Linked DNA regions of Homo sapiens: region 2 is linked to region 1. Evidence: promoter capture Hi-C in 16 types of primary human blood cells and fetal thymus (Javierre and others, 2016). All regions are on one chromosome and are shown on one strand. Each heading gives the region's core, a stretch centred on a gene start or on the middle of the fragment in contact. The rest is flanking DNA. Distances are from core to core; before and after follow the strand shown. Region 1 holds the start of INTS4 (integrator complex subunit 4). Region 2 overlaps CCDC90B-AS1 (CCDC90B antisense RNA 1).

Evidence for each region. Contacts are between HindIII fragments. The CHiCAGO score rates a contact against its expected background, and 5 or more counts as called.
Region 2: a contact is called between a fragment that was not itself captured here and the fragment with the promoter of INTS4 in region 1, in 1 of 17 cell types (non-activated CD4 T cells). The highest score is 5.2, in non-activated CD4 T cells.

Annotation. Positions count from the first base shown.
Region 1 is chr11:77,991,018-77,997,138 of GRCh38, reverse strand. INTS4 (integrator complex subunit 4) reads left to right here and starts at 2,471. Exons shown (of 23, transcript NM_033547.4): 1 at 2,471-2,549; 2 at 5,840-6,031. The coding sequence starts at 2,496. RefSeq lists a silencer at 2,087-2,156 and an enhancer at 2,357-2,556. The HindIII fragment of the contact is 5,814 bases long and covers 320-6,121 here.
Region 2 is chr11:83,290,436-83,296,556 of GRCh38, reverse strand. All of the region lies in intron 1 of CCDC90B-AS1 (CCDC90B antisense RNA 1), which reads right to left. Among named protein-coding and RNA genes, the nearest start is that of CCDC90B, 7.1 kb to the right of the region's middle. The HindIII fragment of the contact is 1,087 bases long and covers 3,327-4,413 here.

The DNA of each region.
Region 1 (6,121 bases), core at 1,222-3,721:
ATTTTGGAATTACATGTGTTATTTTAAATTACTATTAAATATATCTCCAAATAGATTACCCTATAATTTGGCATTAAAAAGTTCTTATGTGCACAGGAAGACATGGAAACAGCAGTGCGAGGTAAGATACAAATCTATGTCTAAATAAGTTAAAAAGAGCTGTTTCTGTAAGTATACATAACAAATCTAAGCAATTAGAAACCATTGTATTTAATTTCAGCATTTCTTTTCTTAACATAATAAATAAAATATTGATTTTACAATTGCTGGCAGCTTAGATTTGATAGAATATGATAATGGTAATAATAGCAGCTAAGCTTTATTAAAGGTACTGTTTGCTAAATGTTTTTCATTTCCCTTGACATATTTGTATATCTTATCTCGGCGGTCTGGGATGCCTTTGTTTCTGGAAAAACTCATTCTTTTAAAGCTGCATTAGAAATAGTTTCCTTTTTTTTTCTTTTTTTTTTCTTGAGACAGAGTCTCGCTCTGTTGCTCAGGCTGGAGTACAGAGGCCCGATCTCGGCGCACTGCAGCCGCTGCCACCTGGGTTCAAACGATTCTCCTGCTTCAGCCTCCCGTGTAGCTAGGATTACAGTCACCCACCCCGACGCCCGGCTAGTTTTTGTATTTTTAGGAGAGACGGGGTTTCACCATGTTGGCCAGGCTGGTCTCGAACTCCCGACCTCAGGTGATCCGCCTGCCTCGGCCTCCCAAAGTGTTGGGATTATAGGGGTGAGCCACCGCGCCCAGCCTTTTTTTTTTTTTTTTTTTTTTTTGGAGACAGGGTCTCACTCCGTTGCCCAGGCTGGAGTGCAGTGGCTGGATCTCGGCTCACTGCAACCTCCACATCCCAGGCCCAAGCGATTTTCCCGCCTCAGCCTCCAGAGTAGCTGGGACTTCAGGCGTGGGCCACCATCATGCCCAGCTAAATTTTGTATTTTTAAAGTAGATTTCGCCATGTTGCCCAGGCTGGTCTCAAAACTTCTGAACTAGGTGATCTGCCCGCCTCGGCCTCTCAAAGTGCTGGGATTATAGGCGTGAGCCACCACTCCCAGTTTCCTCTAATTTTAGGAAAGCCTTCCCTGAGGCACTCTGAAGAAATTAGGTCTGTTTGAACCACATTCATTCCCGTTACCCAGCACATTTCAGTTGCACTGTCACCATCAGTTTGGGTGTCTGTCTTCTCAGATTGTAGGACCTTGAGGATAAATACTATCTTTTGTTTATTTTTGGGTCCTCTGTATCCACCTCAGCCTCCTGCTTTTTTTTTTTTAAACTATCCCACATTAATTCTTTTTTTTTTTTTTTGATAACGGAGTCTCGCTCAGTCGCCCAGGCTGGAGTGCAGTGGCGCGATCTCGGCTCACTGCAACCTCCGCTTCCCATGTTCAAGTGATTCTTCTGCCTCAACCTCCCAAGAAACTGGGATTACAGGCGTGTGCCACCATGCCCCGACTAATTTTTGTATTTTTAGTAGAGACGGGGTTTCCCCATGTTGGCCAGGCTGGTCTCGAACTCCTGACCTCAAGTGATCCATCCGCCTCGGCCTGCCAAAGTATTGGGATTACAGGCATGAGCCACCGCGCCTGGCCCACATTCTTTTGAAAGACCAAAATAATGAACAGCTAGTTTCATGTAGGTTGTAAAACTTGACCTTGGATTTACTGACACTAACATGTGCACTACACCTTACAGTCCGTAAAATGTTCCTGCATTATTTCACTCCATTGTCACATCTTTGTCAGGTTAGTTATTATAAATGCATTTGTAGTTGAGCCATTTGCTCAAGAACCAGAGCTGTAGTCTGTAGCTTTGTTGCTTTATCCTTGGTCTCAGAAGTCTTCTACTGTACTATAGCTATCAGAGCAGGGATTGATGCCTTAAAGGATGGCAGCTTTTGCAAAACTGGAATAAGGAAGTATGGAAAGGCACCCCAAAACAAGAGAGGTGGCGCACAGCTTGAACAAAGGCAGTGCTCAGGAAACCTACAAACAGCATCGTGTACAGCAAAGGATGATGGGAAAGTCAGCCGAGCCTCTGAGTTTTTTCACGAGTCGTAAACCCCTTACAGAGCTCCGGGTTTTGCCTCTAGCTCTGGAGCACCCCGCCTCTGCCCTTTAACCTGTACTTCCTCCCTCCCTCCCTTCGCGCCGCGCCGCGCTAGTCTCTTAGCCACTCCGAGGCCACCAACCAGCCTCCCAAAGCTCCCATTGGGTTGCCCACCCTTTCAGTCTCAGCTCCTCCCGCCAGAGGCCCCGCCTCCCACAAGCGAAGCTCTTATTTCCGTTCTTCCGGCGTAGGCCGCCAAATCAGTCCGTACAGTGGCGAGGCAGTCGAGCAACAGGAAGCGGTCGCTCTTTCCCCAAATCCCACTGCCTTGTGGGATCTCGGCAAGTCATCCACCCACCCCCCGCGCCTACGCAAGTTTTCCGGATCCGTCCACCCCCGCCTCCCTCCTAGTGTACGGAAGCTGAGAGGGCCCGCGGGTAGGCATGGCGGCGCACCTTAAGAAGCGGGTTTATGAGGAATTCACGAAAGTGGTTCAGGTAAGCTCTGGCGGGAAAGATCCAGAACCGATCCGGACCAGGGTAGATTATCCAAATCCCAGGCACTTTGCCGGAACAGAAGAGGCTCCATACGCCCGTGTTAAGTGCTGACTTGTTGATAATCTCTGATATTGCAAGTTAGTGGGCGTGTTAGTTTGCAGCCGCTGTTGTCATTAATATGTGAAGTCTGACAGGATTTTAAAAAAATTATTAGGAGAAACAGTGTTTTTTAATTTACGAAACTGTCTTATCCGTTATTTCATTTTATTCTCTCACACAACTTTGCTCCATCGCGTTACATTAGCATCCTCGTTTTCCAGATGTGGACATTGAGCCTTCCGGAGGGGTACGAGGATACAGCCAGTTAGCAGCAGAGCCCCTTCTAGCCTCCCCGCACCCCCGTTCCAAAAAAAAACCTCCCAGGGACCAGTTGGAATATACACAAGGTTCTAAGGGGCTGAAAGAAGGGTCTATAGAATTCCTTCAGGCGCAGTCTAAGCAGGCGGGGGTCACAGACTTCATAGGGGAAGAGCTCTCTATTGGTAGAACAGCTCACCTAGGAAGGAGGGCAGTACCTTCCTCACCATGAAGTTGTGACAGGTGGGCAGAGTCCCTGTCGGGAGTCAGTGATGCTCCATGTGTCTCCACGTAGATGTTGCTAGGGTTGATCCTAAATCATCCTGATGTCCTATTTCTCAGATATTAATGTGTATACAAATTACCTGGGGACGTTGTTCAAATGTCGATTCTATTTGATAAGTCAAGCAGAGGAGGTGAGGCAAGATTCTGCATTCCTGACATGCCCCCAAATTTACACCAGTGCATTGGTTGCATTCTTAGATCCTTAGACTTGTAGAGTGGCAAGGCTTAGAGCATCCAGCAGGATACTGATCCTTAAACATTACATGGATTCATTCATCCAGCATTAAAATATGTTAATACAAATACAAAATATGTCAATACATAATATAAAATTTACAATTTTAACAATTTTAAGTATAAAGTTCAGTGGCATTAAGAACATTAGCACTGTTGCACAATGTGATTTCCTCTCTTCCCAACATTCTGTTGTTCCCATTTCCCAAGACTGCTCAGCCCTCTTCCACCCATCCTCACATGACCAGATATGCCATGTGTTCTTGTGTTTGCATATCTCAAAACTCTTGCACTGGTTGTCTCTTCTCACAGAATACATGCCATTCTTCCCTTTCTTTTTGTTCTCCACCCAGTGGACTTAACATTTGTGCTTCAAGACCCAAATGAAACCTCAGCGAGAGCTTAGTCTCTTCTTCACCTGTTTCTGTAGCATTCTGTGGTACTAATCTATTTGTACTTTTTGTTCAGTGCTGCTGTCATTACCGGTGTACCTATCTTCCCACCAGTCGGAGGTCCTTGATGGCAGAGCTAATGCCTGGCTCATCTCCGTGTCCTGGAGATGGACAATAGGGCCTGGCTCACTAAAGTGTTATTGGTGGTTGAATGACAGTTGATATTGCTTGTCCTCTCCCTTATATAATACTTAGGGAAAAAATTCCTAGCTTTTGACCTAACTACAGCTTCGATAAGACTGAAAACTGAGTTTGAGAGGACTAGGATAGAAATGGCTAAGAATTTTAAGGGAAGAGCTAATTTCTTCACTTAATTTTTCATCAGTTGTTAACATAAAGTGATTAAATGAGATCTTAGTGCTTCTGTTCTTTTTTCTCCGCTGAAAAGATGAGGAGGGAGAACTGATATGTGCCTAGCACTTACATATACGTATAATAAAGTTATGTTTAATAACAGATTTATCGACTAGCTCTGTGATAATAAAGTATTGGTATGCCCTCCTATAGAAGAAGGCCTTCCCCAGCTAGTAAGTTGTAATTGAATACAAATTCCTCTGACTCCAAAGTCCTTATTCTTTTTATCATGTCATACTGTGTTCTTGTCTAGAATAATTCTACTCTCTTTTCTATAGAAATGTGAATTTGTAAGGAGGTGATTGCTCAGTACATAAAAACGCACCATTAGGTGGTAAGGAAATTTATTTTATTTTATTATTATTTTTTAACAGAGACAGGATTTCACCATGTTGCCCAGGCTGGTCTCGAACTCCTGGGCTCAAGGGATCCTCCTGCCTCAGCCTCCCAAAGTGCTAGGATTTCAGGTGTAAGCCACTACGCCCATCGGATATTTGTTTCCTTTTCTTCTGTTTTGAGATGGAGTTTCGCTCTTTTCGCCCAAACTGGTGTGCAGTTGCGCAATCCTAGCTCACTGCAACTTCTGCCTCCTGGGTTCACGCAATCCTCAGCCTCCTGCATAGCTGGGACTGCAGGCATACACCACCACCCCCAGCTAATTTTTGTGTTTTTAGTAGAGATGGGGTTTTGCCATGTTGGCCAGGCTGGTCTTGAACTCCTGGCCTCAAGTGATCCGCCTGCCTAAGCCTCTCAAAGTGCTGGGATTACAGGCATGAGCCACCATGCCATGTCTGATATTTGTTTTCTAATAAAGAATGGACTTTGGGAGACTGAAGCAGAGGGATCACTTGAGGCCAGAAGTTCGAAACCAGCCTGGGTAACATGGCAAAACCTGTCTCTACTAGAAATACAAAAATTAGCCATGTGTGGTGGCACACACCTGTAATTCCAGCTAGTTGGGAGTCAGGGAGGTGAATCGCTTGAACGTAGTAGGTGGAGGTGGCACACACCTATAATCCCAGCATGTTGGGTGTCAGTCAGAGAATCATTTGAACCTAGGAGGTGGAGATTGCAGCAAGCCAAGATTGCACCATTGCACTCCTGCCTGGGCGACAGTGTCTTGCTCTGTCTCAAAAAAATGGAGTAGATCCTTTGTGTGACCTCTAAACCCAAAGGCTACCACAATCCTCAGAGATAGGTAGAGCAAAATGTTAGTGTAAGGCTGGGCACCGTGGCTCATGCTTGTAATCCCAGCACTTTGGGAGGCTGAGGTGCCAGGATTGCTTGAGCCCAGGAGTTAAGACCAGCCTGGGCAACATAGAGAGACTCCATCTCTAAGAAAAAAAAAAAGTATACCTATTTTACAGAGACATAAACTGAGACTCGGAGAAATTAAATGACTTGCCTAAAGTCATAGGAACTGGTAAAGGCAAAATTGAGACTCATGGCCTTGTCACCAACCCGGTACTCTTTCTGGTTTATAATACTGTATTTTCCTAAGTCCATCAGCTAAATATATTATTTGGTATAATGGAAAATCATTTCCACCAAATGAGGCAAAGTTAAATTTGCAGATTCTGTGTTTTCGATTTTCTCTACCCCTTGCAGCCACAGGAGGAAATTGCTACTAAGAAACTCCGACTAACAAAACCAAGTAAATCTGCAGCACTCCACATAGATCTGTGTAAAGCTACCTCCCCAGCAGATGCTTTGCAATACTTGCTCCAGTTTGCCAGGAAGCCTGTCGAGGCGGAAAGCGTAGAGGGAGTAGTCAGGATTCTCTTGGAACATTATTACAAGGTAAGAAAATCTTGAGGATCTGATGGGAGTATATCATGGGAGTTGTATCATGTCTGCAGAATGGTTAATATTACAAATAAATAGGGTATT
Region 2 (6,121 bases), core at 2,621-5,120, 5.3 Mb before region 1:
GCCAGATGTCAAAATTATATAGCTCAGAAAAGGCTGGCTTTCTTCATGATCAACATGTACATCTACATCCAGTAAGATCAAACAAACAGAAGTGGGCCTTTTAAATGTAAAATTACCACATGACCCTGCAATTTCACGCCTACATAGATACTAGAAGAACTGAAAAAATATATTCAGACAAGTACATGTATGCACATGCTCATAGCAGCATTATTCATAATAGCCATAAAGTAAAAAGACCCCAAATGTCTATCAGCGAATGGATGGATAAACAAATCATGGTACTGATTGTGTGCAATAGAATACTGGCCATGAAAAGGAATGAAGTACTGATGCATGCTGCAACACAATGAACTTCCAAGATATTTTGCTAAATGAAAAAAGCCATATACAAAAGGTCACATGTATGATTCAATTTACGTGATACATCCAGAATAGATGAATCCATAGAGACAGAACACAGATCGGTGTTAGTCAGGGGCTGAGAGGAGTGGGGAAGGGGAAAAACCTGCTAAATAGGTCAGGAATTTTACTTTGGAGTGATGGAAATATTTTGGAACTAGATAGAGGTGGTAGTTGCACAACATTGTAAGTGTACTAAATGCTACTGAGTTGTTCACGTTTAAATGGTTAATTTTATGTGACGTGAATTTCTCAACAAATTTTTTTAAAGAAATGACCTAAATTACACAAAGAGCTAACAATAAAAGAAAGACCTTCTTGATGATAAGAGCTGAAAACAGGGTAAGGCTGGCAGGAGTAAAATCAATGAAGGGCCCCCAAATTCTCCCCACAGTAGTATAGATCAGTTCTTAAGAGATAGCTTTGTGGAGTCAAGGGCTCTTCCCCAGAGCCTAAGGTAGTAGCAGGAAAAGGCCTGAGGTAGGAGTCAGGAGCTGTGACTATGTCACTAAATAATCAGCGCCTCTCCCCTGAGCCTCAAGCTCCCTCAGTTGCAAACCCAGAAAACTACCTCCCGAGGCTGTTGTGAGGCTCAAAGCAAACAGTGAATATGAAGGTTTTCATTACCCATTATAAAAATGCAAAGTTTTCCATGTGCTTCAGGGTTGAAATTCCAGCTTGTTGTATGTCCCTGAACAAGCTACTTAACCCCTCTAAGTCTTGTTTTTGTCTCTACCTACCTTACATGATTGTTGGAGAATTAGAAATAATATACGCAAAGTGCCTGGTACCCACTAAACCCTCAGTAAGTTGAAGCTATTGTTAAATGGGTGGGAACAATTTCAGCAAGGAAGGGAAGGAATAAGAGAAAATGAGCAAAATGGGTGTTGGGATGAAGGTGGGAGTCAGTGGAAATGTCATGGCCAGTGCAGGATTATGGCAGCCTAAGGGGAATATATAATCTAGAAATGGCATATGTGCTGCCCCCTTTCTCTCCTGCATTCATATCAGATACTACCAATCAATCATGTATTCTTTACTGCTGCACCAAGATATGGCCTCACAACACTCATCACTTTGTTCTAAGCAGCCACGGTCAATTGAAGGGTATTGGCATGAAGATGAAACCCATTTGTCACTTCTGTACTAACAGTTTCTTGGAGGATGAGGGATGATGTGTCCCTAAGAGTACACATAATTTCACAATTTGTGCCATGTACCCAGTTAAAATAAATTGGTGGAAGGAACAGGGGTGACTTATCTATGCAGTGTGCAGCACAATCGATTATGAGTTCTACCACGTACTTGCTCTGTGACCTGGGACAAGTCACTTCAGCCTTCTGAACCTGTTTTCCCATCTATGAAACAGGAGCAATGGTACCCAGCTCACGGAGTTGCCAAAGAGCTCAAATGAGCTCATGTGTGTGAGATAAGAGATGAGGCAACACCTACATGTGAAGAATTTTTGAGGAAGAATGCCCCACCTTGTTGTTGGAGACAGGAAGGATACAGACCATGCTGAGAGTTTAGTGAGATTTTTCAGCTCTGCTATACCCCAGTGCGGAAAATGAATTCCAAAGTCAAGACCCCAAAATCCTATTTCCCTAGTCTTTCCCAGTGAGGTCCAAGGCAGCCAAGTCATACAATGAGGAGGACTTCTCCAATCAGGTACCTTGAGGCTGGAGCTGTAGGCTCTGCCAGGCCAGGGGTCTTCTCTGACCAGGAAAGGGGCAGATGTCTAGGGTTTTCCAGATCAGTACCTAGGACAGGGAATCTAGGTGAAATACACAGCCTTGACCGCTGAAGGACTCAGCAAAGGGCAGGCAAACACCCTTTTGGTTTTTTTCCTTTTCTTTTCATTTTTTCGTTTTCGTTTTTGAGACAGGGTCTCTGTTGCCCAGGCTGGAGTGCAGTGGTGCAATCAGGGCTCACTGTAGCCTTGACCTCCTGGGCTCAAGAGATCTTCCCACCTCAGCCCCCTGTGTAACTGGGACTACAGGCATGTGTCCCATTGCCCGGCTAATTTTTTTTAATTTTTATAGAGACAGGAGCTCGCTATGTTGCCCAGGCTGGTCTCAAATTCCTGGGCTCCACTGATCCTCTCACCTTGGCCTCCCAAACTGCTGAGATGACAGGGTGAACCACCATGCCTGGCCACCTTTCTTTTCAAAGCTACTCCCTAGCCTAATGCCCTTCAGTGATTCCTCTTACTCATGGATAAAGTAAAAAAGACCTTGAAGGCCAGCCTCACCTTTTCCAACCTCACCTTCTGAATTTCCCTACCCTTAACCCATTGCTCCAGCCATTCTCTCCATTCCCAAATGAACCAGGCTCTCTCACACACACTTCCCGGCTTTTGCAAGTGCTGTTGCCTTTTCCACACAACGTACTCCACACCACCATTCACCAAATCCATTTAACCAAACTGTCTTTCACACATCCTTTCAAACTAATGCCTTCCGACGGATCCCTGCTTAGGGTAATATAAGCCTCTCTTATGCATTCCCTTGGCAGCCTATACTACCCTTCATCATAATATTTATTACAATAGACTGTTGACAATCTGAGAGCAGGACTGTGTTTTATGTTTATATCTTCATGGCTTAGCACAGTGCCTGGCACCATAAATAGTGTTCAATAGTCATTCAAAGAAAAAATGAGTAATCGATGAGAGACACCAGGTTATGATGTAACATTGCAAAGTATATAATGTTTTGACAGCTCTTTCTTCTTCTTTTCTACCATTCTTTTAATCATTCTTTTCTTTGATTTATTTTAATGGGCAAACTCGGAATCGGGTGTCATTGCCAGCCTCCCTGTATAATTAGGAAAAAAAAAATTTCCCCAGATTTTCAGGGAATACGGGCTGATAGTCACTTTCCAGCCATGCAAAATGTGAAATTAACATAAAGCTACACAAAGCTTTTGTGACAATGGGCCCTCTGACTCAGCTTCAGAGATGAGAGCAAAGAAGCAAAGAATTGTCCTTGGTTCTTTTCACATCCTCCCCCTAGTGGCAAGAGCTCCAAGTAAGCTAAGGAAGAAAATGAAACCCATTTGGTCCAGAGCTCTCTCTTTCTCAATGCCTCATTCACAGGCTTTAAAACACATCGAGATTCCTTCACATCACCTATTCCAAGAGAAAATGACTGACACATGTGAGTGGTCCAGGCTGCATTCTCTCTCCGTGAAGTCACCAGAGCTATAGTCGTAGTCCTGGGTGATCTCTGGTCATCTGATACAATTGTGCCCAAGCTGGGACCCCAGACCTCTAAACATCAGAGGAAAGAGTACTGGAGCAATGGGGTCCTCAAGAGGATTTGGACATATTAAAATGCCTCAAAAAATTGTATCATTGCTGGAGATGAAATTGGAAACCACTGAAGAAATTGGCAAGTATCTTCGCCTTCCCCTGTAAATTTATCAGCTTACTGTTAAATCAGCACTGCTTATCTCCCACTCACCAACAGTAACTTATCTTGAATTAATGGAAAATAGGAAAATAAGTAGTGGCTTCATACATGTTGTTGGTAAAGAGTGTAAGCTGTGTTTTAAATGGGAGCTTATAAAGGTAAAAAAAAAAAAGTGGTTATTTGCAATGAAAAAAACCAGGACCCACTTCCCTGCTACCCTGTTGGCCTTTGAGATTTAGATAAACTAGGCTGCTTTCAGCAGGGGAGCATTTCTCATGTCCAGGCCATCTCATCAGACATTGGAAGAGGAAAGGATTCATTTGCCTACACTAGCAAATGGCAAATAGTTATTTTCTAGAAAGAAATTCAAACTGATTTTTATCTATTTTAGCTCAAAAAATTTCAAAATCTCCTGCAAGTCCACTGTATGAAATTCAATTTCCTTAGTCTTTTTTATTCTACCTTTTTCATTTTGTTCACCCCAATTCCACCCAGTCTTCATATAATTCCTATGCCCCAGTCTACGAAGTTTCCTCACCAAACTATGACCATATTTTGAACATTCACTCATTCATTCAACACACACTTACCAAAAGCTTGTTATGGCCCAGGCATGATAAGCACTGGAGACACCATGACACATATGGTCTCTACCATAATGGAGAAAACAAATATTAAGTGCAGAGACATGGGAAGGCTGGGTTGCTGTATGAGTCCATAACAAAAGTACCAAATCTGCATGTTGTTTGAGTGGGAATGACTTCTTAAAGAGTTACTCTAAAAAGTCACCATTTAAACTGGAATCTGAAAGATATAAAGGAATTGGCCAGATAAAGAGGAGAAAGAGCTCCAAGTTGAGTAGTGATGCTTTACCATATGCAAAGTCCCTGAGTAGGAAGGAGCAAAGCGATGAGTAAATTGTACTTGCTCACTCCAATCCTCTCTCCTGGACCCCTTGCCTTACAACCTCTACTAACTAAAACCCCTAAGGTTCAAATCCTATCTCTTCTTGATAACCATTATCAAAAAGCATTTAACCTTCAACTGAATTATAGGATTTATTATTTTCTTAACATTTACATGACACTAACCTATTAAAGCTCTGTGTTGAAGGCTATTAAAATGCTTGTTCTATTCTCTCAGTTATTAATATATTACAAATTACTGGAGAGCAGAAATCTTTGCAATCCTTGCGTATCCTAGCAGAAATCCCTGCACGTAGTAAGAACTTGAATAGTTGTTGGATTGAACTGGTTTTCTTTACATTCCTCACATCTAACCTTAAACCTAGCTGGCACTCAGATATTTCTGTAAGTAAAACTGGAAAAATGAAAAATGTTTAAAAGTCCAGAGAAGAATAATATTGTGAAGGGTCCGAGATCTTACCCTATTAGCAGGCTATCAAGTTATCCTGTCATGGTTGCATGGATGCTGGTAGAAGATATGAGACTCCTTGCTAGAAACAAAGAACCCAATTACTGATGGTGCAGCGAGCAGCACGAGTATCGGCATATTTGTGTCAGCTCCCCTTGGCCCCAAGTTCATGGGGATGATGCAGCTGGGGCTACGTAGATGCCTGAGCACGTACAGTACATTGCATTACAGAGAGGAACCCTGACCTATGAGAACACAAATCTTTTATAATAGGCAGTAAGCATGAGGCCTTTTGCTCCAGAGAGAGATGCTATATTTCCTAAGGTTGTTCGTTATACAAAACTGCCACAACAAAAGGCAGAGAAGACCTCCATTTGTAAAACATACAGAAACATGAGACACCCATGGAAATTATTTCCTAACTCTGAGTAAGCAGGTATTATTATTGTTTATTGGGTGCTTGTATATGCCAGGTCCAGTGCTAAGTATTTTAGATGCATCATCTTTTCTATTCCTCTCAACAAACATGAGAAAACATTAACAAATTTATGGAAAAATATTTTTATAAATTAAGATGTTTAACAAAGAAACAATAGCAACCAAGGAGAATCTGAAAATACACAGGAGCATTAGGAGGTCTCAGAGAGGAGCTGTATCTATTAGCTGAATACTATCTGGACTCACTTCATCTGCTATTCCTGCTTTTCCTTCCTATGCTTCTCTGGCCTGCATGGTAGATTATGGATGACCCAAGCTCCTGCACTCACTTGATATAGTTCCAGCCAGCCTCAGAGAATGATTAAGAATCCCTGGATCTAATTGCCACTTCCATCAAAGAGAACATAATCAACACTGTATATGTGTGTTACAGAGAGAGCTTTATGTTAATATAAATAATAGTAACATGAATTAATATATAAAGAGATCCACTT